Linked DNA regions of Homo sapiens: all the other regions are linked to region 1. The links are contacts of gene promoters, found by promoter capture Hi-C in blood cells and fetal thymus (Javierre and others, 2016). All regions are on one chromosome and are shown on one strand. The core of a region is centred on a gene start or on the middle of the fragment in contact, and the rest is flanking DNA. Distances in the headings are between cores, read along the strand shown. Region 1 holds the start of RNGTT (RNA guanylyltransferase and 5'-phosphatase). Region 2 overlaps BACH2 (BACH transcriptional regulator 2). Region 3 overlaps ZNF292 (zinc finger protein 292).

Region 1 (3,682 bases), core at 983-3,482:
GTTCTGTCCCTCTAGAGAACCCTTACTAATAAATTACACGATAAGTACAAATTACTTTTTTTTTTTTTTGAGATGGAGTCTCACTCTGTCACCCATGCTGGAGTGCAGTGGTGCAATCTCAGCTCACTGCAACCTCCGTCTCCTGGGTTCAAGTGATTCCCCTGCCTCGGCCTCCCGAGTAGCTGGGATTACAGGCACATACCACCACGCCATCATAGCTTTTTGGCTATTCATATAACTTATTTTGTGAAGTGTCCAAATTTTTTGCTAGTTTTTAAGTCCTTTGAATTTCTTCTGTATAATACATTGATGGTGGGACTATCAAGTGTTACCACTTTGGAAAAGAGGTTGGCAGTTTCTTAAAATTCTTAAAACATACACCTACCATATGATGCAGCCATTCCTCTCCTAGAGACTTACACAAGAGAAATGAAAGTATATGTCCACACAAAGAATTGTACATGAATGTTCACAGCAGGTTTATTTGTAATAGCTAAAAACTGGAAATAACCCAAATGACCATCAATAGATGAACAGGTAAACAAATTGTGGTATACCCAGAACAATAAACTACTACTCTGCAATAAAAAAGGAATAAACTATTGATACATGCATAATCTGGATGAGTATCAAATTAATTATGCTGAGTGAAAAAAGCCACACACACTTCCTTCCACCCCAAGAAGAGTACTCACTATATGTTTCCATTTATTTAAAAATTTCTAGAAAATGCAAACCAATCTATAATTACAGAAAGCAGATCAGTGGCTGCCAGGCGAAGGAGGGATTTAAAAAGGGGCAAGAGGAAACTTTGAGGGGTTTCATGGTTGTTTCCTAGGAAAGAGATATATTTGTGTATATACAGTCAAAATTTATCAAACTGTACGCTTTAAAGCTTATTGTATTCAAGCTCAATAAAGATGAAAAAAACTACAAGAAAAATAATTAAAAAAAACAAAAACCCGGCCAAGCGGGGTGGCTCTCGCCTATAATCCCAACACTTTGGGAGGCCGAAGTGGGAGCATCGCTTGAGTCCACGAGTTCAAGACCAGCCTGGGCAACACAGTGAAACCCTGTCTCCACAAAAAATAAACAAAAAAATTATGGCCAGGCACAGTGGCTCACGGCTGTAATCCCAGCACTTTGGGAGGCCGAGGCGGGCGGATCACTTGAGGCCAGGCGTTGGAGACCAGCCTGGTCAACACGATGAAACCCTGTCTCTACTAAAAACAAAAATTAGCCGGGTGTGGTGGCACGCGCCTGTAATCCCAGCTACTTGGGAGGCTGAGGCAGTGAGCCGAGATCACGCCACTGCACTCCAGCCTGGACGACAGAGAGAGACTATGTCTCAAATATATACATTATAAATATATATATACTTTAATAAATAAAAAAATTAGCCGGGTGCGGTGGCAGGAGCATGTAGTCCCAGCTACTTGGGAGGCTGAGGTGGGAGGATCCCCAGCCCGAGCAAGAGACCCTGTCTCACAAGAAAATAAAAATAAAAAACTAACAAAAACACCCTCCAGATTCCCAGTCTCAATGTGACCCCATTTCACCGCTGGGAACCGCCCCTTCCCTCCTTAACCCTCCTCCATCTCAATACTGATATTCATCCCTTCTTTCGAGGGGAAGGTTGAACCCTAACAGGTTCGCAAACTACTAAGACTCAAAGTACGCCCACTGTATTCCTGGATCCTCACCTCCTGCCACCAACCTCCTGTCTACCTTCACATTCGCACAGTTAGCCTTGCAGGAATAGTAACAAGTGCCCCCCATCCGCCGACCATCCCCTCCCGTTCATGTTCCCATTCATCCACGAAGCGTAATCCGACGGAGCATATCCCGCTCCTGAAATACCACTAATGGGCACAGAACCACCAAAAGCTGAGCTCCTCAGTCGGCCCACCCCCGGGCACGTTGGAGTGTGGGGATTCGAACGCCCCCCAGTCCAGGTTACCTGCCACCGGCTGGCCGCGCCGGGGACAGTTCAGCCACCGCGGCGGGATCTTGTTGTGAGCCATGTCTTGGGGCTGCGCAGAGCTGCCCTCCCTCACCAACGTTCACCGCGCCTTTGGAGCCGCCTCCCCGTGGTCCGGTGCACACCGGGGTCCGAGACACCCGAATCGCAGCCGTAATCTGAATTCCAACCTCTCCGATCCGGGTAACGTCAGGGGCGGCGCGCCACTTTCATTCAGGATCAACTCCACAGCTCCAGGAGAACCCACAATGCACCGCAACTTCCGCCCCCGAAAGCCCCGCCCCCTTTCCGAGGTCAGAGGGAAAGAAGAGGAAGCTCAGCGGAAGGATAGCAAAGAGTTAAGGACGCGACGAATGGGAGGAGCGGGCCTTCTCTCGCCCCACTCGGCACCGCCCCGCCCCGCCCCGTCCCGCTCCACGGACGCGCCCGGACGCTACTGGTTCGCCTTTGCGCATGTGCAATTGCCCTCGTACCGAACTCCGCAGGACGAAGCGTGTATTTTTTTCCCATCCAGACAACCTAGAGAAACCCAAAAAAGAGGGAAGCCAAGCGCCTTTCCATGCGTAGATTGCCCGCCACTTCCGTTAAGGCATCTATTTTACTGATGAAAAGAGGCCTTCTGAGCGTTACCACAGCTCAAGCTTGGCGTCCCAGCCGGATCTAGGTTTGATTTGCAATTAGGGAAAGTTGTTCAAGGGAACAAGTCTTAGGAGAATTCTAAGGACATGAGATTGGAGTACCAGAAATGGGGAATTTTTCTTTTGGTGAGTACTTACGAGGATCTATGAAGCTTCTGAAATTAATTCCAGAACACTTAGAGTTTTGTTTGTACATTTCTGGATCAAAGTTTCAAAGCATACTGGGGAGTTTGAGAGGGTCCATGTCTCCAAAAAAAGTTACTAATTAATGTGGTATAATTGACAAAGGTAGGAATTGATCAGTGGAGAACCTCTTCGTGGCGTTGTTCTCCTTGGCCTACCAAATAAACAGTGCCTTTTATTTTCCCTTCGAGTTAAGCAGAGGTGCTTGAAAAATTTTTATAAATGCCGTCCTTTAACGAGCCTTTCCTTTGTTACCAGATTAAAGTGTTAAATATAAAGCTGGATGATGGCGAATCAATTATAATGTAGTTTGGCTTTAAACACCAATGCTATATTGGAACTGCAAGAACGTAAGGCTGCAGGGAATACATTTTTAAAGCGTCGGTGGGGAACTTTCTGGGACGCTCAACCCCCTGAATGCCTGGACCCCCTCAGTAAGAGTCCCATCAATAGAGGCAGTCCAACAGCAATCTCTCTGAGGCAGCCTGAGTTAGGTCACACTTCTGGTCTGTCCTGCTGTTGCATCTGCTCAGAACTGTTAGTGAAGGTGTAAACTCCTCCCCTGACAGAACAAGATAATACCCAGTTTCCTTTAAGGCCATCAGTCTACCCAAATAATCTCCGATGAATTCCCTTTTCTGCTGATAGAGTGTGTACCATGCCCAAAGTGGTAAAAACCTTCCATCCCCAGACCCCCTCCAAGGATGGGAAAGGTGAGCCTGATCCTGGAAGAGTATCTTACCTTCCCCTTCTGGGGATGACTCCCCTTGGTGACTCCCCTTCCCACACACGCTATACCCAGTAGCTCAGTCCTAGGCACACAGAAGCTTCATACCACTGGCGAGCAACTGTTATTGGCTGTAAGGCAGCAATGTGCACT
Region 2 (3,544 bases), core at 742-3,241, 1.3 Mb after region 1:
GGAAATGGGCTGCAAAAAGATGAACGTACACCTGAATTCCTGGTGACATCTGGGCAGCCCCTCAGCAGGTAGCACAGTTCTTCCTGAGCTAGCTGCTCCACTCTGCTGTTTCCTCTGACTCGCATTTTCTGTTAACCTTCCTCTTGGAATCCTTTGACAATGACTCACAGGGTTATGGGGCTACTTAGCAATACCACAGCCCTCCGCAATAGATGCTGTGTAGGAGGGACGCAGCTCAGTGGATTGTAGTCTGCACCAGTATTTTCCTTTCTGCATTCAGGGAGGATTTGCTTTTCAGCCACATTTCCCTCAAACACAGCCCCGACAGGAGATGCTTAGCGCAGAGATTTCTAAACGATGAAATGATCTGAGTTTGGCTCCTTAATCATAATGAAACTAAAAACAGTAAGATGAGAAAACAACAGGGGGATCATCATTCCTACAAAAAACAACTTTATACTTGGGCAAAATCAAGAGATTAAAAAAAAAAAGCTCAAACTAACATTTTCCAACCTTTCACTAAGAGCAAGGGCTAAAACCACATGTTTTGAAGGTCTTGCACTGTGTTATTATTAGAAGTCACAATTCTATTGATACTGATGAGTCATTCGTATCGGCGGAAACCAAGAACTTCCATCAACATCATGTTACACACAGTCACTGTGGCTTTTCTTTATTACTGGTCAAAGCTGCTTCAGAATGCTTATTGAAACTTAAGAAAAAGAAGGCAAACTCCTCAAGGGTGTGCAAAGCTTTCCCTTCCCCAGCTGATCTTACTTTAATCATCCTTTTTCAAGACAGTTTATGATGATTGGATCAACTTGTATCTACAAAAGGAAGTTTATTTAGAAGCCTCAGAAAAGCAACATTTCACACTTTCCGATGAAAATAAGCAAAACTGAACTCTGAAAACAAACAGTGAAACCATCTCTGAAAATACATGCTAGCTTTAAAATGACCTGAGGTCAAGTTTTTTGTTTTGTTTTTTAACCTCAATAACAGGGAACGGATATAAACAAAAGCTGTCATCACTTAGGGACTTCAGCCACATAAAACAATGTCAGGCTAGTCACTTGCACCCTCGCCCCTGCTTCCCTACTCAGGACACACTGCTTTGCACTGAGGGAGAAGTGGGTCAGGTTTCAGTTACGCCAAGAAAGCCTAACTAAGTTAAAGGTTTATGAAAACTCTTTCTGATCTTAGTAGGAAATAACAGCACATTCCCTTTTCATTTATTATCAGCCCCTTTTGCCTCTCCCCTTAAATATTCCCAGAAAAATAAAGTGAAGCAAAAAAAAAGTTTTCCTGAGGCATATCCAGAAATGCTATGAATCTTTATGCAGTCCCTACAAAGGTAGAAATTTGTCCAATTTTCTCCCCTGCAACCAGAAGGCTGTGTCTGGCTGCTGGCAGGAGAAGAGGACCCAGCTCAGCAGTGACCACAGATCTGAAAATAGCCTCCCAGTAGCTAACCAGCCCAGCAGCCCGGAGCTCTCCAAGGGCGGTGCTGGTACTATGGGCAGTTTACAGTGCGGCCAGCTGAGTGCTACAACAGCTGCATGAGTCAGCAAGCACTGCTGGTAGGAAAGTGCTGACATGCTAAATTACTCTCGTGTACTTGAGATGCACACACCTACCTGGCAAAAACAAAAACAGGGTACATGCAAATTAGCAAACGGGAACCTCTCTACGCTTGCAGTTTCTATTTTCCAAGGTTAGACCAAAAATATAAATAATCTATGCCACTGCTCAAAAAGAAGTAACAACTAATAATAATTAATCATGGTAATAAACAACTCACTCTTAGTGTTGCTATGTGTGGAACAGCTGCACTGAAATCTCACGAGCCAGTTAATTTTAACTGGTTTTAATTTTAACTAGATTTAACTGCTTTTCCTCCCTTCTGAAAAATCAAAATAGTTACCATATCGACCACAAGAACTGGTAACAGACAAGCACAGTTCCTGTTTTTCAGAGGGGACTTACTTTCAAACCCACAATATCAACACGCTTAACATAAGTGGAAATTTAAAATGTACTGTTTAATGTGGGAAATTTAAAACCTGTATGCTAATTGAGATCTCATGTGCCAGGCTTTGTCTGACAATGCCTCTCATTCATCTATGTTCTCTCGTTTTATACGGGACCTAAAAATCTGCAGGAACACTGGTTGTCTGGAACTGAGAATACATTTTCCCACAGAAATAGGGCCAGGCCAATGAGCTAGGATTCCTTGATAGTCCGTGAAAATGTCTTGAACTTAAAATATGAGAGGTTAAATTTATAATCTAAAAAGAAAATGATACTACAATGATAGTTCCAAAACCATTTAAAAGAAAATACTCTTGATTAACTGTGTTTGAGGAAATGTCTAACTACAGGAGGATGAAGGGACACAGTCTTCCAAGTGACACTTTCAGACTTCAACTTTAGGGTCATTCTGGTTCTCTAACATGGTTTCAATTGATAGTTTCATTTAAAATGCATAGAATTCTCTTACTTTGGCATAAAGTATTGTTAGAAAAAAAATCTTTATACTTACCGGTTTTAAGTACTGTTTTGTTCTCCAAAAAAAAAATTGAGACTTGGAAAACAAAAAAGGAGGAGAAACAAGTACAAAGAGGGGGTACTAGAGAGAGGGAAACAAATTAAGTCTGGAACAAAGAAAGACACGGAGGTATAACTAAACTGCAAAAACAAAGGAGAGGTAGGAACTAGAGGGCAGTTCCCCGCTAGACAGTGTGTTCCCAGAGAAAGAGGACTCTTCATCATACCCAGCTCTGGAGGTGACAGTGAAGTCCTGCAAGACAGTTCCACAGACTGGCACTAGATGGAGCCATCAACTCAACATAGCATGGTTGCTGGAGAAGGGTATGGTGGGGGAGAGGTGGGACTGAAGGGCGTTGACTCTACAGCCAGGTATTTACCTGCCAACAACTCTATCTAAAATAAGTATAGTTTAATTAATCAACCAACTCTCCTAATGTCCAGATGTCACCACCATGCTGACACCACTATGCTTGTGGTATGTCAAATTGGGACACACCAATTTTGAAATAAATTTATCAATTCAATTTGTATCAATGCAACTGGGGTGGGGAGGTAAGTGAAGTTGGATCCGCTGCTTTTTTTTTCTTCTAAAATTCAACATGCAAAGATAATATAGAATTTCAGGTTCATTGCTACTGAATAACAAAAATCCCTAACCACAAACCAAATGGCTTTCCCTGGAAGCTTTGTTTAAATGTTAAATAACATACCATCTTGCTATAGAGGTTTATGTGATCAACTCCAATGTACGGCAAAAGGCGGGAAATGCTCACTGACAAATGTATTATTAAAAATAATCTTCTCTTTGTATTTTAATACTACTTTGATTTAAATACTGTAATCCATTTGCCTATATTCTCTGCCTAGGGTTGTGTTTATTTATCACGAGCCCTCTCTCCATTCAGAAATGGTCTCCTATCACCAGGTTACCAGTGTGCGAAATTCTATTGTTTTTATCTTTAGGGTTTTACTTCTTTGGCTTTGTCTCCTATTA
Region 3 (3,685 bases), core at 1,039-3,538, 1.8 Mb before region 1:
TAAAAATAAAATTGTATCTTAGCAATTATCACCTAGCATTTTGATACGAAGTTGAGTGAAGCAATGGTTAACAATTAAAGAATTTATTGGCGCAATCTAAATATAGTACCAGGGATACTAGGAGCTAGAAATTATGTCTTAGTTTCTAACCTTGAGATTATTATTTAACTTTTTCTGTTTAAGCTTTTCCTGTAAAACTGGGATAGTCACACGCTTCAAGAAGGCAAAGATGAATAAACGTTTGTCAAAGTTAATGGGCTTCAGAATTAATATTCTGTCAGTGTTGATGCTCAGTGCTTGTGTAACCCTTAGTTTTGCATTTACTTTAAAAAATGAATTAGTTTACATTCTATGTAATTTTTATGAGCAAAAGTTCAGTTTCTGGAGAATGTGGTGAAACCCACAGAAACAGGAGTTGCTTATGATCCGTAGTTTATAGATTTTTATTTTTGAGTGAGGTAGAAGATTAATAGATTTTTTGAATTCTGAGTAGCAGAATAGAAACGAAAGGCATTAAATGTTTTTCTTATTAACAGTGTTGTTTTGCTCATTCTGGAAATAAGCCACCTGCCCCCCCTTTGCTTATTTAAATGAGAATTTGCTTAAAGCTTAAGTGGGAGGAGGGAAGAGTAAGTAGAGGATGGGCATAGTAGAGCGCCCGTCATAAATTTTAAATTTTTTTATATATTTTATTTTATTTTTGAGAGATGGGGTCTTGCTACATTGCCCAGGTATGATCATAGCACACTACAACCTCAAACTCTTAGGCTCAAGTGATCCTCCTGTCTCAGCTTTCTTTTCTTTCTTTTTTTTTTTTTTTTTTTTTAAAAAAGATGTAGTTTAACTCTGTCACCCAGGCTGGTGTGCAATGGCGCAATCTGGGCTCACCACAACCTCCGCCTCTTGGGTTCAAGCAATTCTCCTGCCTCAGCCTCCTGAGTAGCTGGGATTACAGGCATGTGCCACCATGCCCGGCTAATTTTGTATTTTTACTAGAGACAGGGTTTCTCCTTGTTGGTCAGGCTGGTTCCGCCCCTCTTGGCCTCCCAAAGTGCTGGGATTACAGGCGTGAGCCACCACGCCCGGCCCTGTCTCAGCCTTCTAAGTAGCTGAGACCTCAGGCATACACCACCATGCCCAGCTCTTAAATTTCCTTGTATCTTTTCAAAGTTAGCTTTAATATGGGCAATATAACCAACTCATTTTCTTAAAATTGACTTAGAATAAGTATATAGAATAACCAGAAGTAATTTCTTGCATTTACTTGTTTTAGGATTATTACTGTATTTATTATACAAAAATTGGTTATAATTGGAACCTTTTAGACTAGTTAATTGTATTAGACTGGGCCAGTAGTCACTCATTCAACATTTCTATTGAACATCTACTGTATACAGGCTAGGCAAGGATGATCATGGTCCCTGGCTTCAAAGAGTTTATAGTCTCTGGAGGAAGGTAGACAGATAATCGTAGTAAACTATGATTTATATATTTTATCACTGAGGTGAGTACAGTAAAGAGGGAGGTTATTTGGGAGTTTTAAAAGAAACATTCCAACAGAGGAGTTGTTCTAAAGAGATTTTAAAATAATAGTTCGTTGGAAAAATTGGCCATTGTAATAGTTGATTTGTTGGAGTATGATATTTGCTGACAGCACTATATACTGGACTGGCCGACTGGTTGATTGTAACTGTTATTGACCATTGATCAGTAGTGATCTGGTGGCTGACAGTTGTTTTGAAGGGTTGAATTACAGTCGTGTGTGTATGTGTATACATACGTACATGTGTTTGTATATATATGTGTGTGTGTGTGTGTGTGTGTATATATATGCAAGGACCTAGGTTTAGATGTTACAGAGGATATAAGATACAGGAGACTCTAATAAAAAAATATGTTTGTGTGTATATATACATATATACGATGTGTGTGTGTATACATACATGTATACGGTGTGTGTGTGTGTATATATACATATATATGATGTGTGTGTGTATATATATATATATAATTTTCTTAGTTCATATAAGCAGGGCTTCTCAACTGGGCATAGTACTTTCCCTACCTCCAGTTCTCTCTTTGATGGCACTTAGAAATATGTGGGATCAGGTTTTTGGATGTTGCTATGACTAGGGATGTGGTACTGGCATTTAGTGCCCATGAGCTTCAATGCTAAGTTTTCTGAAGTGATCAGGACCGTCCCAACAAATGAAAGCGTAATTCCTCTAAGTACCCTTTTCAGAAACATTGAACAGAAAGAAAAATAGTATATCTAGAAGATTTTTTTTTTTAGTCCTTCTACTCTTTTCATATTGAGATAGTTAAGCTCCAGAAATATACTTTATTTGGAACAGGTCCAGGTAAATGATATTCAACAATATTTAAGTATAATTTATACTGACCATGAGAGGTCAAGAAACTTTCTACTTTCTTAGCAGAAATTACAAGCAATTGCATAAACAGTTAGTAAAACAACTTTTGCTAGGTTAAAGAGGGTAGCAAATTCAGCATAATTATCCTGATTAAAGAAAAGATTTGACATTTTGATATAATAAATTCTGTACTTTTAAGAAAGCATTTATATGCAAGGACCTAGGTTTAGATGTTATAGGAGATAAAAGATACGGGCAACTAGTGGGATATAAATTAGTAAGATAATATTTAAATATCACTTCAAAATGACAGCTGAAAAGATGTCAAAAGGCAGTGTATTAACTAACAAATTGTTTTGCTTTATTTTTATTTTTTTGAGACAGGGTCTCCACTCTGTCACCCAGGTGGGAGTGCAGTGACACAGTCACGGCTCACTGCATCCTTGACCAACTGGGCTTAAGCGATCCTCTTGCCTCAGCCTGAGTAGCTGGGACCACAGGTGCACATCAACATGCCTAACTTTAAAATTTTTTGTGGAGACAAGATCTCCCTACATTGCCCAGGTTGGTCTCAAACTCCTGTGCTCAAGCAGTCCTCCCACCTTGGTCTCCCAAAGTGCTGGGACTATAGGCGTGAGCCACTGCACCCAGCCTGGTTTTGCTTTTTTGTTGTTTGTTTTGTTTTGTTTTAAATTGAAAATGTACTAATTGAAATGGTTTTTTAAAATTCACCCTGAGAAAGGGCATACAATGAAAACTTGATCTTTTTCCCATTCTAGAGTTCCAGTCTCATTTCCACAAAGACAAATCCCCTAATGGTTTCCAGAACTAGTTTGCTCTTTTTAAGAAAATAAAGATAACTACACTGTATCTTGCTTTCCCTCCCCCCAAAAGCATCTTCTAGCTCATTCCATAGCTGCTCATGTAAGTTTTTGGCTTTCCCTATTATAGTATATAGTAATTCTAGTCTATGGCTGGGTCTAATTAATCAGTTCATTATCAGTGGATATTTAGGAGAGTAAGTTAATTTTATGTATAGCAACTTAAAGAGTTCAAAGTAGGTAGTAAGCACTTCAGGCTGGGGTATCAGGGAAGGCTTTCCTGAGGAGGTACTATTTGAGCTAGTCTTCATTACCTTTGTTAGCCATTATTGGTGCCTGATTGGTATAAGAAATAAAAACCAAATTAAAACTGTTAGAGCTACAGAATGTTTAGATTACATATTTAGGACATTTCTTTGTATATTTTATGTCTCATCAGTTTGATACAAGTTGATTCTTTTGTTTATATACATGTTACATTATAACTGCAAG

What was found. The method cuts DNA at HindIII sites, captures the fragments that hold promoters and counts their contacts. A CHiCAGO score of 5 or more calls a contact.
Region 2: a contact is called between a fragment that was not itself captured here and the fragment with the promoter of RNGTT in region 1, in 1 of 17 cell types (fetal thymus). The highest score is 5.2, in fetal thymus.
Region 3: a contact is called between a fragment that was not itself captured here and the fragment with the promoter of RNGTT in region 1, in 1 of 17 cell types (fetal thymus). The highest score is 5.5, in fetal thymus.

Annotation. Positions count from the first base shown.
Region 1 is chr6:88,961,386-88,965,067 of GRCh38, forward strand. RNGTT (RNA guanylyltransferase and 5'-phosphatase) reads right to left here and starts at 2,233. Exons shown (of 16, transcript NM_003800.5): 1 at 1,961-2,233. The coding sequence starts at 2,024. RefSeq lists enhancers at 652-1,578, 1,933-2,312 and a silencer at 2,296-2,530. The HindIII fragment of the contact is 1,727 bases long and covers 894-2,620 here.
Region 2 is chr6:90,284,255-90,287,798 of GRCh38, forward strand. The region is part of intron 1 of BACH2 (BACH transcriptional regulator 2); the gene reads right to left. Among named protein-coding and RNA genes, the nearest start is that of BACH2, 11 kb to the right of the region's middle. RefSeq lists an enhancer at 1,292-1,792. The HindIII fragment of the contact is 2,482 bases long and covers 751-3,232 here.
Region 3 is chr6:87,158,691-87,162,375 of GRCh38, forward strand. The region is part of intron 1 of ZNF292 (zinc finger protein 292); the gene reads left to right. Among named protein-coding and RNA genes, the nearest start is that of ZNF292, 5.0 kb to the left of the region's middle. The HindIII fragment of the contact is 3,364 bases long and covers 607-3,685 here.